6 separate regions of the Homo sapiens genome follow, and regions 2, 3, 4, 5 and 6 are each linked to region 1. Evidence: promoter capture Hi-C in 16 types of primary human blood cells and fetal thymus (Javierre and others, 2016). All regions are on one chromosome and are shown on one strand. The core of a region is centred on a gene start or on the middle of the fragment in contact, and the rest is flanking DNA. Distances in the headings are between cores, read along the strand shown.

Region 1 (2,700 bases), core at 85-2,584:
TTTGACAATTTTTCTGTGGTTATGAAAGGAAATTAACATGACTTCAAAACTATTATCTAATTTATAGGCATTATTTAGATTTTACGAATTGTCCCAGTAATGTCTTTGATAGCAAAAGTACCAAATGGACACTTTTGAGATTAAAGGCAACCACATTCAATAATTTTGCCAAGACAAGGGTAGTAATGTAATCATAAAAGGCAGCTGAGCTCACATCTGTAATCCCAGCACTTTGGGAGGCTGAGGCGGGTGGAACACCTGAGGTCAGAAGTTTGAGAACAGCCTGGCCAGCATGGGGAAACCCTGTCTCTACTAAAAATACAAAAATTAGCCAGGTGTGGTGGTGCGCGCCTGTAGTCCTAGCTACTTGGGAGGCTGAGGCATGAGAATCACTCGAACTCGGGAGGCAGAGGTTGCAATGAGCCGAGATTGTGCCACTGCAGTCGAGCCTGGGCGACAGAGCAAGAATCTATCTAAAAAAAAAAAAGGCATTGAGGAGGTATACTTTTTCTTAATACGTACACTTAGAGGTCTGGTATGATAACTGTAATTGTCTATAGGATTTTATAAATGGATGTCCTTAGTGACCTTGACAAGAGGGAAATGGACTCAAAAATGAAAGATAAGAAAGCAGACATGGTATGTAGAAAACTTCTTTATAAAACGAGCAAAGATACGGAGGGGGATGTGGGATTAAGGAAGGTTTTTTTTTTTAAAGTGGGTCATTTTATTAATACATTATGTTGATTGCTGCTGGGAAAAATTCTTTGCAGAGCAGTCTAGGGAGGTTTACAAACTACTGATGCCTGGGGCTCATCTCCAAAGATTCTTATTTAATGGATCTGGGCTGCAGCCAGGTTCACGGGGATTTTTAAAAGCTCCCCAAGTGATCTTAATGTGTAGTCAAGATTGAGAACCACTGGTAGAGAGAGAAAAAAACTCTGTTGAAGAGAGGACTTAAAATCTGCTGCAGCAGCAAGACCTTAAATAATCTAAGTGCTAAGTTGCAGCCAGCACCACTTAAATTATCAAATCTTGTCAGTTACAGTATCCAACTTTCCCTACAAGCATCCATAGGCAGACGAAGGGTTTATACCAGTAACTGCATTCCCCAGGAGACAAGAAAGGAGGATAGAAAAACGACTTAGGAATCTCCTTGGAGCTCAAGACCAGGAACTTCCCCAAGCCGGAGGTCCCTGAGGCGCTCTAGCGCGCTGGCCGCACTCGCAGCCCAGGTCGCCAGTGCGCACGCGCAAGATTAGGTGGGGCGCCAGAGCCGGGGCACCTGCGCAGGCTTGGCTGCGCCCTCTCGCGCCGCACGCTCTGCGGGTTCCTCCCTTCTTCCGAGCCTCTCCTCTGGCCGCCGCGCGGGAGAGAGGCCGAGATGGCAGATGAGATTGCCAAGGCTCAGGTCGCTCGGCCTGGTGGCGACACGATCTTTGGGAAGATCATCCGCAAGGAAATACCAGCCAAAATCATTTTTGAGGATGACCGGGTAGGTACTGGGCACCACCTCTCTCGCCTGCTGAGGTGGGTATCGTCCGCGGATCCTCGGGTTTCTCGCGGAGGGAGAGGAGGGGTCGCGAGTGTAGCGGCGACGGGAGGGGACCTGGCTGCCCTGGTCCAGCGGGCCCCCAGCCAGCGGACAGGGCCCGGGCACTCCGAGGCGGCCTGCCGGCGCGTGCCGGCGCTCCGGTTACTCGTTATCTGCCCCGGGCGCGGGCCAGGCCGCCGGGCGCCCTGAGTGCCGCACCGCGGGGCCTGGGCGCGTGTCGGGGCGCACTGGGGCCCCCGCGTGGAAGCCCGCCGGTTCCCCGGCTGCCTCGGACCTTGCCTGTATCAGGAATCTCGAAATCTCGCCAGCGCTCTGCCTGACAGAGAGAAACCCGATCGCGCCCTGACTCAGGCCCAATCTCCGCGATCTCCCGCGCACAGCCGGCCTGCCAGGGCCCGGCGTTCCTGGGCGCTGCTCAGCAAGGCATTGTGCTCGAGGGCCCCAGGGGCGCTGGGAGGTGCGCGGGCCGTCTGGGCCTGCCGGCTTCCTCCGCGGGGTGCGGCTTGCCACCCTCACCCCTACCCCTATCCCTATCTCCACCCCAAGGCCTACCCTGGGCTAGCGAGGCGATCTCCTGAGATAAGAAGTGGGCCCGCGTCTGGGATTTGCTTTCCGTTGACCTCTCCCGCTGAACATTTTGGACTTACAAACAGCTGAATGATTCTTTTTGTATTCAACAGGAAGTAATTTTATGCCAAGAGACTAAGACTGTAGTTTTTGTTGACTTCTTGTAGGTGAAATCCCAGTTGATGTGACTTTGAGATATCTTGTGTAAATTATTTAGTGGCCAGTTGTATTTTTGGGATTGGATCTCAGATAAAGCTGGGCAGATTGGCTGATTTAGATAGAACAAATTTTGTAAACAGTTTTGTTAAATTTAGGAAATATAAAATCTAAGAAAAACATTTATTCTACTAATGTCGGTTAGATTCAAAACGTTATCAAAAATTTAATTAGGTTCCTCTAGGTAAATTAAAAAAAAAAATACTTTGTCTCTACTCAGGGGAAATTCTTTGGTTTTAGAAAAAATATTTCTTTTTAAAGTTCGCAGTTGCCTTTGAGAAATGGTTCTTGAAAAATTTACATTTGAACCACCGAAGTCCAACTGTAGAACGGCAGGAAGCATTCTAAATGAATCAGCATTT
Region 2 (2,700 bases), core at 156-2,655, 390 kb before region 1:
CCTTATTGTTAGCAGTTACATGTTGACATATTTTGGGGTCAAGAAGCATTATATCTCCAATTTATTCTTCAGTATTTCAGAAAAACAAGTATATAAAATAAAAAGTCACATCAAGTATATGTATTTATGGCTGGTAATTTTTAAATTTCAAAAATTTAAATTTATTGATGATTGGTATAATTTTAAATGCTTTATGAGTTATAGGAGAAAACAATCCAAAATAGGTGAAATTTTTCAGAATTGTTAAAAATGCCTGGTCAAATGGTTTTGTCTATTTGTACAGATTTGATTAACTCCACTGGTGATTGGAAGTGTCTGTTACTGAACACATTCTTGATCACCTGATAAGTTAGTCATCTTAATCTGACACATTGTAAAGTAATCTCCTTGTTTTAACTTTTTTTTTTCTTTTTTTTTTTTCTTTTTTTCTTAAAGAAAAGGGGCTTACCGAGAGTAGAGTGTGCGGTGGTGCGATAGCTCAGCGCAGCCTTGGACTCCTGGGCTCAAGTGAGCCTCTCTCCTCAGTCTCTCAAGTAGCTGGGACTACAGATGCACCCCACCATACCCAGCTAATTTGTTGTTGTTGTTGTTGTTGTTATTGTTTTTGTAGAGACAGCCTTGCTATGTTTCACAGGCTGATCTCGAACTCTTGACCTCAAACAATCCTCCCACCTCAACCTCCCAAGTGTTGGACTTACAGGTGTGAGCCACCATGCCTGGCCCAAAGTATACTTTTAGGCAAGAAGCATTATTTAATGTAAGAATGGTACTGTATAGTGATAAAAGGTTAATTGTATCAAGGTTACACAATCCTGAAGCTTTACATGCCTTCAAAATACATAAAACAAAAATTGTCCTTAGTAAAATCAGAACTAGACAAACCCACAATCACAGTGGGAGATTTTTATTTTTATTTTTATTTTTATTTTCATTTTGTGATGGAGTTTTGCTCTCTCGTCTAGGCTGGGGTGCAGTGGCATAATCTCAGCTCACTGCAACCTCTGTCTCCCAGACTTAAGTGATTCTCCTGCCTCAGCCTCCCAGGTAGCTGGGATTACAGGTGTGCGCCACCACGTGCAGCTAATTTTTGTATTTTTAGTAGAGACAGTGTTTTGCCATGTTGGCCAGGCTGGTTTTGAACTCCTGACCTGAGGTGATCCTCTTGCCTCGGCCTCCCAAAGCGCTGGGATTAACAGGTGTGAGCCGCTTTGCCTGGCCAGGAGATTTTAATATACCTCTAAAGTAACTGACAAAACAACCACCATGAGTCAGTAAGGATATTGAGGATTTGAACCTCATCATGTACACATTTTACCTAAGAGACATAACAGGGAACACTACACTTATCAACAACAGAGTACGCCTACTTTTCAAGTGCACATGGAATGTTTTTTAAATTTGACCACATGCTGGGACATAAAGCAAGTCTCAAAATTTCAGTATTTAAAATTTTATAGTTTCTGACCACCATGAAATTAATTTAAAAACCAATTATAAAAACACAGCTAGAAAAAAAAATACAACTTCTGAAATTCAGGCGTATGCTCTAAATCGCTTGTCAAAGAAGAATTACTTAGAAAATTAGAAAATATTTTAAATGAATAAATATGACCTATTAAAATGTGTAGAATTCAGCGTAAGCCTTTCTTGTTGTGAAATTTAAGCCCTAGTGCTATAAGAGCAAAGGCTGACAGTAAAGTATTCATGTCAGGAAATTAAAGAGCAGCATATGAATAGTAATCACAAGCCAAGAAATAGTAAAGATCAATATAAAAATAAATATCAGTGGCATAAAAGCAAACTTAGAATAATGAGGATTGACAAAGGACAAGGTTGAGTCTCAGAAAAGACTAAGAAAATTGATAAACCCGTCAAAGATAATCAAAAATAAAACATGTCATACAATCAGTATCAGGAAGGAAAAAGGATTCACTACTACGATCTAGCAAACATTTTTAAAATGCTAATAAGGGAGATGGTATGGAAAGCTTAAAGCAAGTAAGTTTGAAGTTTTAGTCAAATTCCTTGGAAAAAAAAAAAAAAAACCAAACTGGCATATACACACACAAACAGAAGATCTGCACAAGCCAATATCTAGAAAAGAAAGTGAATCTGTAATTATAAACCTTTTCATTTAGAAATTCAGACCCATGTGGCTTCACTGGTAAATTTTTCCAAACATTTAAAGAAGAAATAATACTTAGCATCTAATAGGAAATAGAAAAACTTTAACTTCTTTGCCTTATTTTATGAGCCTATTTTAATTTTTATAACAGCCTAACAAGGGCATTATACAAAAGCAGTATTATAGGTTAGTATTTTTAAATGAAAATAAATGTAAAAATCTTAACATTTTAGGTAGTCCAATTTCAGTAATACATACAGAGGATAAAACAACATGACTACATTGAATTTAGTTCCAGAATCACAAATTGATTTAGCATTTGAATGTGTGATTCACTACATTGATATAATTAAAGAAAAAAATCAGGTAATCATTTCTATGGATGCAGAAAAAGCTCTTGATAATCAGAACCCGTTCATGATTTTAAAAGCTTTTAGCAAGCTAGGAAGGGAATGAAACTTTTATAACCTAATTGTTACCTGCAGAAACCCTATAATAAACATTGAAAACTTTCTCCCAACATTTGGGAATATATGGAGAAAGCTCACCATACCAAAACTATTGGCTAGGAGATG
Region 3 (2,700 bases), core at 128-2,627, 330 kb before region 1:
GTCATTTGTTTATTTTCTAATCCTTCCTATCCTTGGATTTTTAGGCAACACCTGAGCGTCTCATAATGCATTTAATAGAAGAACATTCCATCGTGGATCCAACTTATATAGAAGATTTTCTATTAACTTACAGGACATTTCTTGAAAGTCCTTTGGATGTTGGGATCAAACTATTGGAATGGTTTAAGATCGACAGCTTAAGAGATAAGGTTGGTTTTATAAGGGGCATGAAAGTGATTTTAACCCAAAATTTTATTCATGAAACTTTTATAGTTGATAGATTACCTGTTTATTATGATAATAAGATTCAGTACACCTAAAAAAATTAATGAACCTGAACCATCAGTATAAACATTCTCTGCTTACTTTTATGACAGAATAGCATGCTAAAAGTGGACGAGAGCCTTAAAAGGCAAAAACTGAAATAAAGCTCTGGTATAGCTATAGGTTCAGGAAACATAATAGTTACATGAGAGTATTTTAGAATTTTACTGAAATACTTGATTGTTTCTGGAGATCAATAAAACATTTTAAAACGGATTTAATATTTTAGAAAGAATATTCATCAAATACATTTTTTTAAGAGGGCAGATTGCTTTTAAGCTTCAAAATGGGAATATTTTTATTTTCTTGAGTTACAGACTTCACAATCATTTGAAAACAATTTATCAAACCTTAATATGTCTCTCCTGTGACTTATTTAAATCTACCTTTTGAGTATTTTTTTGTATTAAATGTTGTTCACTATTTTAAATAAATTAGCTTATTTCATGGGATATGTTTGCACATTTAATGGAAAGACTAGTAATACTTCCACAAATTGGTAAGAAATAAGTTGTTTCAAGAAAATAAAAGTAGGATCATAATTGTCTGGTGTGTCTTTTTGAGTTATATTTTAAAGGAAATAAACTAGTTGCAGGTAAACTGCAGAATTCTTTTATTTAGGAGACTAACATCTAAAACTACAGGCTTGCACACCTCTCACCCTTTTTCTTAGAATTAAATATATTTACCTTGGTTGCCAAGAAAATAAAGGCATGCTTTGGAAATGAACAAGAATATGATTTAGTGATAATTATCCATATGCAAAAGAATGAAAATGGATTACCACCTTATACTATAAACAAAAATGTACCCAAAATGGGTCAGAGACAGAAGAGCTAAAACTATAATGCCTTAAAGATAGGGGTAGATTATCATGGCCTTGGATTTGGCGTTGGTTTCTCAAATATGAAAATATGATACCCAAGCACAAGCAACAAAAGAAAAAAGAGATAATTGGACCTCATCAAAATTAAAATTATTTTTGCATCAAAGGACACTGTCCAGAAAGTTAAGACAATGCACAGAATAAGAGAAAATTATATATCTGATAAAGGTTTAATATCCAAAATACATAAAGAACTTTTACAACTCAACAACGAAAAGACAGCACAGTTTAAACATGGACCAAGGACTTGTATAGACATTTCTCCAAAGAAGATATGTAAATGGCCAACAGGCACATGACAAAGATGTTCAGCATCATTAATCATAGAGATATGCAGTCATAACCTCAATGAGATACCACTTTACACCCACTAGGATGGCTTTTAAAAAGGGGGAAAAAAGAAAAAGTAACAAACATTGCCAACGGTATGGAGACATTGAACCCTCCTCCCCACCCCCACCCTACACACATTGATGGTGGGAATGTAAAATGGTATTACCTCTGTGGAAAAAACAGTTTGAGCAGTTCTTCAAAAAGTTAAACATAGGGTTACCATATAGCCCAGCAATTCTAATCCTAGGTAAATACCCAGAGAATTAAAAACAGGTGTGCAAACGAAAACTTGACGTAAATATTCGTAGCAGCACTATTGACAATAGCCAAAAGGAAGAAATGACCCAAATGCCCATCATGGATAAACAAAATGTGGTATAGCCGTACAATAAAATATTATTCAGCCATAAGAAGAAAAGAAGTACTAATACTTACTACACCATGATGAACCTTGAAAACATTAAGCTAAGTAAAAGAAGCCAATCACAAAAGGCTAGGTATTGTATGATTCTATTTATGTGGAATAGCCAGAACAGACAAATAGACAGAAAAGCAGACTAGTGGCCGCCAGGGGCTGGAGAGAGGGCAGAATGGGAAGTGAAAGCTTAATGAGTTTGAGGTTTACTTTTGGAGTGATGAAAATGTTCCAGAACTCAGAACTAGACAGTGGTGATGGTTACACAGTATTGTTAAGGTACTAAATTATGAACTTTAAAATCATTAAAATGATGAATTTTATGTGGATTCTACCACGATTTAAAAAAAATGACTCATTTCTTACATTGTTAGGCATGTTATTCAAATCAGCTTACATTCGTTAATTTTTAACTTTTCTGAAGCAAAGTAAACGATTCTGCAGTTTGAAAATTTACAGTGTTTATAATGAAAGAAGTTTCAGATTTGTAAGGGTTTTTGTTTTGTTTTTTAATTTTTATAGAGACAGGGTTTTGCTATGCCCAGGCTGGTCTCAAACTCCTGGACTCAAGGGATCCTCCTTGCTTCAGCCACCTGAGTTGCTGGCATTGCAGGTGTGAGCCACTGCACCAGACTCAGATTTGTTTTTGTTACCGTTTTGGTTAAACATGTTCTTGACCATGGAAACGCTTTCGGTATGGATTTTTGATTGATAGGATTGCCTGCTTTATGACATGAAGTTT
Region 4 (2,700 bases), core at 120-2,619, 310 kb before region 1:
AGATCACTTGAGGCCAGGAGGTTGAGACCAGCCTGACCAACATTGTGAAAGTCCATCTCTACCAAAAATAAAAAAACTAGCTGGACATGGTGGCGTACACCTGTAATCCCAGCTGCTTGGGAGGCTGAGGCAAGAGAACTACAAAAATTAGCTGGGCATGGTGGCACATGCCTGTAATCCCAGTTACTCGGGAGGCTGAGGCAGGAGAATCACTTGAACCCAGGGAGATGGAGGTTGTGGCGAGCCAAGCTCGTGCCACTGCACTGCAGCCTGGGTGACAGAGTGAAACTCCGACTCAAAAAAATAATAAATAAATAAATAAATAAATTTTATTTTTAGTAGCGACAGGGTTTCACCATGTTGGCCAGGCTGGTCTGGAACTCCTGACTTGGAACTCCTGACCTCAGGTGATCCACGCGCCTCAGCCTCACAGAGTGCTGGGATTACAGGTTTGAGCTACCGCACTAGCCAATAAATATTTTAAAATGACAAAATTATTTGATTCAGTAGTTCTGTTTCTAATAGTAATTAGATGAAGATTTATATATAGATGCTCCAAGTTGTTTTATCTACACTAAAAGTTGGAGCACCCTAAATGTCCAACTACAAGGATTGGTTAAATAAATTCTACTACACATCAGAAAAATGACTAGAAGGAAAAATATCAAAATGTTGATTGTGGTTTTTGGAAGGCATAGTTTCATAGGTAATTTTTCCCTTCCTTCTCTGCTTTCTTTCTGTATTTTACAAGTTTTCTTCTTGAACATTTGTTATTTTTTAATTGAAAAAAATGTTTAATGAGTTCAGTTTCACAATTTCTGAGCATCTCCTGTGTGCCAGACCTCTTTGGAAGAGGCACCAAGAACAGAAACTTGTTCTCTGCCTTTAGCAGCACTCAGTTCTGTAAGAGTAGAGGATGAGTTGTCATAGAAAAGAAAGAATGTAAGGAAAGAACAAATACTTGAGATAAGAATAGATAATTCCAAAATCCCAAACAAACCATGATATAATTTTAAAAGAATGTTCCTAAAAATTAAAGTGAAAAATGTTACTAGTTTGAATTACATCTGTAAGTTAAGACGGAAGTATGGTTTTTATTGACCTAAGAATTCTTCACATTTCAGGAAATCTGTTTTTCTTTTTTAAAAATCACATAGCTTTTATTTTGTTTTTAAAATCACAGTTGCCTAAGTAACATCTCTGTGTTATTCATTGTAACAATCCCAGAAATAAACTGCCTTGCTTGCTTAACTGGAATTATATTTTTCCTCCCCATTTCTTGTCAACGTATTTTTGTTTGCTTTTTAAATATTGGGATTCTATTTTATTTACATATTGGCGATATTTATGTAGCCTTTTTAGTTTCATAATATGAAACCAAGTACTTTTATCCTAAGTAAATTTAGTGTTGGGGAAGTATTGAGGAATATTTTTAAACGATTTTTCTTCTGTTACTGCATCACCTTCTCAGGAGACTGTTTTGGTAAGAATGATACAATTACTTGCCAAATGGGCTTTATCAACTCAGCTTTCAAATAAGCATGGATATTTTGCCAACTAAATACTGTTTCATTCATGGCATAGCATGGATTGTACATAGCAGTATAGTTTTCATTTATGCACCTCACACTTTAATTACTACGAATTTGTAACCAGCTTTACATATTTATAGCTATACAGTGTTTTCTCTATTGAGCATTCAAAAGCAGAAGCGATGTTAAATAGCATCAGCAAGAGATATAAGGACTTTTCGTATTTTCTGTACATCTTAATTTGTATAGTGATTCAGCTTGCTGCAGTTGATGCAGTTAATTCCCTTTAATAGAAAATTGTAACTTTTTAACATTGTTAAAGTTGCTTCTACTTAATTATTAGTAGGACTGGACAACCTCTTTAATGGTTTGCTTCCTTGGATTGTTGTCGCACCCTCTGTGTCCAAAAATTGATGTGTTTGTTTTCAAAAGTCAATTAAAGAAAGACTGTTTTTTTAAAAAATCTTTATTTTCTGTATACTTTAAATACCTTTGAAAGCCCTTTTTCCTCTTATTTTCTCTTACCTAACCTTAGAACATTTAACTCTAACCTTTAGGAATACAAACCAAATTATAAGGAGTCAATTTAGAGTAAATGCAAATTATTTATCAAATGAGATATCTCCTTTGCTTTATCTGTCAAATTAGACTGCCTTCTCTCCCCAGGAAAGCACTTCCTGTTTCTCTAGTACCTTTACTCGGACCTGCCTCTACTTTTTAATATAAACTGAGTAAAATAAATAATTCTCCCTTCTGTGTTTGTACAATTCTCATTTTATTTTTATTTATTTATTGTTTTGATACGGAGTCTTGCTCTGTCACCCAGGCTGCTCTCTGCAACCTCTGCCTCCTGGGTTCAAGCGATTCTCCTGCCTCAGCCTCCAGAGTAGGTGGGATTACAGGCACGAGCCACCCGACTTCTGGCTAATTTTAGTATTTTTAGTAGAGACGGGGTTTCGCCATGTTGGCCAGGCTGGTCTTAAACTCCTGACTCAGGTGATTCACCCACCTCTGCCACCCAAAGTGCTGGGATTGCAGGGGTGAGCCAATGTGCCCCGCCCTATTCTCATTTTAATTTTTGTAAAAGTAAGTCCATTCTTAAGAATTAAAGTCCTGTTTTCCTTTACACCACAACATTCGCCTATATTACCTGATTTTTCAGTATTCC
Region 5 (2,700 bases), core at 5-2,504, 370 kb before region 1:
CATATACTTGAGTAACTATATACAAAATGTATCCTTTTGTGCAGGTATGAAGATGCTTGATACGCAGTGTAGACGGAAAGCAGAAGCATAGTGGTGCCTTTTATTGTTCTTTCAATTTCACTGATTCTAATTATAGAAGCTTACATCACCTTGGTTGATGATGACGGTTTCTCTCTCCTTCTTGGTTTTTCTTCCTCTATTACTCCCTAAGGGTGGATCATATTTCATAGTGCATGTGTGTCCAGCTGGTGGCTGTGACAGATTTTCAACAAAAATGGGGGTGATCAGTTAGTGGATATATATGACAGTATGCTGAAGCACACTGTTTCTTACAAGAGAATAAAAGAGCGTTGGTACTCTTGCCTCCCCTCCTTCATGAAGGCTGAGGAATAGGTATGCAGTTTGAAAGCAGAAGTCCTAAGGGGCACCAGTAATTAGAGTTAACTGTGTCTGATAACTGCAAAGATGCATTTCAGATGTTCATGTTAAACATGGGGGAAAACGGGTGGAAAAGATTGTTATGATCCTTTGAAAGGGCTTGTATGTTACCTATGATCATTTCAGTCATTTATTCATTTATTTTCCAAAAGACTTAAAGTGTTTTCACTATGTAAATCAGTACAATTTAAGTTTATATTTCAAAAACCAAATATAACTAAAATACAGAAATGAATATCCTCTTTATTTTGTAAAACTACAGAATTTTTCTTTTGTTCTTTAACTTCTTTGGCGTTTGACTTCTCTAAATTATGATTATAATATTTCATTGCAGATTGGGAATAAATTCCATTTAAAAATATAATAAGTAAATAAAATGCCTGGGTTAGTATAAATCCAGTTTTTGTTATCATTAGTTTTGTTTGTTTTTCATAATGCCTAGAATGTTTATCCTCTTATGGCTTACCTTCATCTATGGTAACCTTTCTCTGTCCTTCTTTTCAGTGTTGTCACATATTAACATAAAAGATGTGTTTACAGTTAGTTTAGTAACTATCAGAACCTTATCTTTGGCTTTCTAAACAATATGATTTTAAGTATTTCAGTTTGTATTTTTGTTTATAAATAATATACACAGTTAACATAAATTTTAATAACTACATGGCATTTACACTTTTATAAAAGTATTTTGTCATGATTTGAATCTTTGCAAAGTCAACATACATTGCTCTATTTTATAGTAGTGCAAAAGACCTTTCTAAAGCTAAAGATTTCATTAATAAGGGTTAGCATCATGGCATTTCATATGCAGGGGAAACGTGTTCATAAGTGGCTGTCCTGTAGTGATTCCTAGACAATAGGTAGATCAGGACATTCTCCTTTGCTGCACTTAATTCATTTGAATTGATAAGATAATGAGATGAGATCGTGATAAAATTCTAAAAGTGATGCAAGGGAAAAATAGGTTATTCACCTAGTCATTTATTTTAGTTATTTGATAAATTACTATTCTCTTCAAAGGATGTTTATTTCTTCATTCAGTAGTTAAAAGGTGAAGTCATTATTTCCTCAGAATGCTGGTGGATCCCCGTGTTGAGTATGGAATTTGGCCTGTTTCTTTTCTTAGTATTGTTACACAGGGAGATTTAGCATGATAGGTTCACTATACAGTTCCCTGGAATCGAAGATACTATGAGATGATTGGTAGAAAAGGAAAAGGATGATGTCATCTTCACTTACAAGCCAAACTAAAGGAAAAGAGAATTTTGTTCCTTTACTGAGTTGGTGTTTACTACAGTAGGTCTAACATATGGCACTAGTGGATTGCATTTCTCACACTGGGCAGCAGTTTTTTAAAGCAGCTAAGAGATGGCTGTCTCCCTTGCCCAGCTTGAGGTCCTTCTTTGTGTGTTGATCAGCATGATTTATAAAAAGGGGGAAAGGTGTGCATTAAAATTTTGCTTTTTGATTCGGCTATAATATATTCTGTTGGTACTATACATGAATATAATTACTGTCTGGTGTTGAAATTCTTGGTATTCTTGAATCTTGCTACTGATATTTATGTGTAAAATACTCATCTTTTAGAAATTTTATCTTAAGTGAAAGTTTGTCTTCATGTACATACAAAGTACCTACTATCATTTTTCTGTTTTAAAGAATGATTAACATTAGATTTTAATTAATGTACAATATTAAGTATCAAGTGGAATTCCAACTCACGTATGATTGATTTAAATTAAACTGAAAAAAAAAAAAACACATTGGTGCTTGAAAACCAACCTGTATAAATATTGCATGTTTTATGTTTAGAAAACTAGTCATGCTTGTTTGCATTTGTGAGATTTAATTTTATATTTAAATGCGGGTATTGTGTATTTTGGTATTGTGTCTTTTGGAATTTTGGCAGAAAAACATTCTTAAAAGCTTTATGAAAATCTAAATAATTACATATTTTGAAAGCATAACTTGTCTTTGTTCAAAATTATACTTAGTTTAACTTAAATTCTAGTTTTATAAGTAGCAGTGTAATTCAGATTGGCAGCATAGTGTTGTTCAGAAAGTGACTCAGACTTTTCTCAAAGATATTGAAGAACTTATTTTTTTTGTGCTTAACAACAAGATGTTTCTTCTGCAGTCAGTGGAGTCCTTTGTTAAAAGACCTGTCTCCCAGGTAACATCTCCTCTTATGTTGCACACCCCATTTTCCCCAAAATAAAAGTGTTAGGTAAATAAAGCAAAATAATTATATTGCTTTGATTT
Region 6 (2,700 bases), core at 76-2,575, 400 kb after region 1:
TTGTTTTTAACTATAATCACTTTACTCTGCTATCAACCAATAGGCCCAGCGCACTGGCTCACACCTGTAATCCCAGCACTTTGGGAGGCCGAGGTGGGCAGATCACCAAGTCAGGAGATTGAGACCATCCTGGCTAACACAGTGAAACCCCGTCTCTACTAAAAATACAAAAAAATTAGCCGGGCGTGGTGGCGGGTGCCTGTAGTCCTGGATACTCAGGAGGCTGAGGCAGGAGAATGGCATAAACTTGGAAGGCAGAGCTTGCAGTGAGCTGAGATCGCGCCACTGCATTCCAGCCTGGGTGACAAAGTGAGACTCCGTCTCAAAAAAACAAAAAAACAAAAAACCAAAAAAACCCCACTAGCACTTATTCCTTCCATGTAAGTGTGTGTTTACGTGTTAACCAACGTTTCTTCACCTCCTGACCCTCACATTCCCAGTCTCTGGTATCTGTCATTCAACTTCCTCTACCTCCACAAGATATACATTTTTTTAAGCTCCCACATAATAATGAGAATATGCAATATTTGTATTTCTGTGCCTGGCTTATTTCCTCCTGTTCCATCTACATTGCAGCAAATGACAGGATTTCATTCTTTTTATGGCTGAATTAGTATTTCATTGCTCATATGTACCACATGTCCTTTATTCATTCATCTATTGATGGACACTTAGGTTGATTCCATATCTTGGCTGTTGTGAATAGTGCTGCAATAAATATGGAGGTACAGGTGTCTCTTTGATAACACTGATTTCCTTTCCCTGGAATAAACACCCAGAAGTGGGGTTGCTGGATGGTATGATAGCTCTATTTTTAGTTTTTTGAGAAACTTCCATACTGGTTGCCATAATGGCTGTATTAATTTACGTTCCCAAAAACAGTGTGTGAGTTCCTTTTTGCATCTTCAATAGCATTTGTTATTTTTGTCTTTTTTGATAATAGCCATTATAACTGCATCTCACCCACTCTTAATGAAATTTGTTGTATCAATGGAGAATATACTTGAGACATAATAAATTATATTTTTCCTTTTCTTGCTTAAACTTTTTTTTAAGGGAAGGAACTTAGGGTTAGTTGTTAAATTTAAGAGAAAATATATAGGTTAATTAAAACTTATACAGAGAGTGAGAGAGACAGAGAGAGAGGAAGAGAGAACAAGAAATTAATGAATATAGTCAGGATGATAGAATTCTTTGTTTTCTTGCAATCATGAAATTAAGGTCTTCCAAGATCACAGTAGGAGTTTAGTCAAGTCAATAAAGATGGAATCTTAGAATGTACTACTCCTGGTGGGATATATATTATAGTAATGAGCTTAAAATGAGAAATTATTTATAAATAATATAAATAGTAGTGAAAGGCAGAATTAGTTCCATCAGTTCCCATTGAAAAGATATAGGGAGAAATTTGAGAGAGGTTTGTGCCAAAAATAACGTGGTGAGCCCATGAGTGGAAGAACTTGTGTTTCATAAAGAAGAGTTGACTGTACCCTAAAGCCAATCAAGATAAATTTTTAAGAGTTCTAACCTTCTCTTGACCCACTGATTTTGCTTGAAGTCTCTGTAAGTAATATATCATGTAGTTGTTTCCTTTCTGCATTGTTTCCTCTGTGCCACACAGTGGCATCTTCTAAGAGCCTTGGACTAGAGAATGGCTGAAGCTCACTTTGCTGGGGCCCCTGGCTAGCTTTGCAGGGAACTGGAACAACTCTAGCTGTTTGCTGTTTCATTTGCTGTTCTTTCCTTATTATTGTGGAGGACCAGTATTGCCTAGAACAGGAATAGAAAAAAATCTCTTCTTTCTTGGCTATTAGTTGTTTTTATTTGCAGAGGATTACTGGGAAAATTCACTAATCTTCAGGATATTACAAATGGTGTATTTGTAGAAGAGTTCAATCCAATCTGTCCTAATTTAAGAAGCAGCTTTATTTTTCACATTTGAAAGCTACTCAACTCTCATGGTGAATGAATTATTGTTTGTTTTTTGACTATGTAGATTTATTTTGATTGTTAGTTCTTTGTGGTTTAACCATTGCTATGTGGCATTGGCTGGAAATAATTTAGTGAATAAAAGAGGTTAGGAATAAATCAGAATTTTTTTTCTCTCTAATGGGACATAAATGGTTTTGGTTAATAAACAAAAGGTGAAAAGAAAATATTGCAAAACATAAGGTGACATGACAATATGCAAAATCCTGTTTATATGACACATTTCAGGCATACTTAAATCTAAATCTCCAGAGCAATTTAACTTAAATGATTTGACCTTTATCTAAGGGAATCACCCTATATTAATTCTTTTAGCTAGAGAAAGCAGGCACAGTCCTCCCCAATCATAGAGTACTTGTATTTATATTTATATATGAATGGGACAAGGTAGATATTCAGAAATATTACTTGAATAAGTGTTCTACCATACATTGTGGTTAACTGTAGCCAAAAATCAAAACAATAAAAATTAAATTTGGTGAACTAATGATTTCACTGAAAAAGAAATTAACTTATTTAAAAATAATTTTTAAATGGAAAGGCTACAATATTCCAGTGTAGACACATCTAATTAACATTACCTATCTGTGTTTCTAATCATAAATCAATGACTTTATCTGATCTATGTTAAATTTGCTTAACAGAGTTGTGACTTCTCTGTAAAACAAGGACATCACATTGTTTTTCAGTTTGAGAGAGTATACTGTTTCA

What was found. The method cuts DNA at HindIII sites, captures the fragments that hold promoters and counts their contacts. A CHiCAGO score of 5 or more calls a contact.
Region 2: a contact is called between a fragment that was not itself captured here and the fragment with the promoter of HINT1 in region 1, in 1 of 17 cell types (activated CD4 T cells). The highest score is 5.9, in activated CD4 T cells.
Region 3: a fragment that was not itself captured here is called in contact with the fragment with the promoter of HINT1 in region 1 in 3 of 17 cell types (non-activated CD4 T cells, activated CD4 T cells and total CD8 T cells); the score reaches 7.8 in non-activated CD4 T cells.
Region 4: a contact is called between a fragment that was not itself captured here and the fragment with the promoter of HINT1 in region 1, in 1 of 17 cell types (naive CD8 T cells). The highest score is 5.3, in naive CD8 T cells.
Region 5: a fragment that was not itself captured here is called in contact with the fragment with the promoter of HINT1 in region 1 in 2 of 17 cell types (monocytes and total B cells); the score reaches 5.9 in monocytes.
Region 6: a contact is called between a fragment that was not itself captured here and the fragment with the promoter of HINT1 in region 1, in 1 of 17 cell types (monocytes). The highest score is 5.2, in monocytes.

Annotation. Positions count from the first base shown.
Region 1 is chr5:131,163,890-131,166,589 of GRCh38, reverse strand. HINT1 (histidine triad nucleotide binding protein 1) reads left to right here and starts at 1,334. Exons shown (of 3, transcript NM_005340.7): 1 at 1,334-1,495. The coding sequence starts at 1,385. RefSeq lists enhancers at 965-1,014, 1,285-1,944, 1,945-2,605 and silencers at 1,165-1,214, 1,225-1,304, 1,515-2,154. The HindIII fragment of the contact is 11,885 bases long and covers 1-2,700 here.
Region 2 is chr5:131,557,564-131,560,263 of GRCh38, reverse strand. All of the region lies in intron 5 of RAPGEF6 (Rap guanine nucleotide exchange factor 6), which reads left to right. Among named protein-coding and RNA genes, the nearest start is that of RAPGEF6, 76 kb to the left of the region's middle. The HindIII fragment of the contact is 1,170 bases long and covers 821-1,990 here.
Region 3 is chr5:131,495,952-131,498,651 of GRCh38, reverse strand. It overlaps RAPGEF6 (Rap guanine nucleotide exchange factor 6), which reads left to right. Exons shown (of 28, transcript NM_016340.6): 12 at 45-209. Among named protein-coding and RNA genes, the nearest start is that of RAPGEF6, 140 kb to the left of the region's middle. The HindIII fragment of the contact is 1,544 bases long and covers 606-2,149 here.
Region 4 is chr5:131,474,075-131,476,774 of GRCh38, reverse strand. All of the region lies in intron 16 of RAPGEF6 (Rap guanine nucleotide exchange factor 6), which reads left to right. Among named protein-coding and RNA genes, the nearest start is that of RAPGEF6, 160 kb to the left of the region's middle. The HindIII fragment of the contact is 2,890 bases long and covers 1-2,700 here.
Region 5 is chr5:131,534,104-131,536,803 of GRCh38, reverse strand. All of the region lies in intron 6 of RAPGEF6 (Rap guanine nucleotide exchange factor 6), which reads left to right. Among named protein-coding and RNA genes, the nearest start is that of RAPGEF6, 100 kb to the left of the region's middle. RefSeq lists an enhancer at 29-258 and a silencer at 14-308. The HindIII fragment of the contact is 2,225 bases long and covers 142-2,366 here.
Region 6 is chr5:130,767,698-130,770,397 of GRCh38, reverse strand. No RefSeq gene overlaps it. Among named protein-coding and RNA genes, the nearest start is that of HINT1, 400 kb to the left of the region's middle. The HindIII fragment of the contact is 3,664 bases long and covers 1-2,700 here.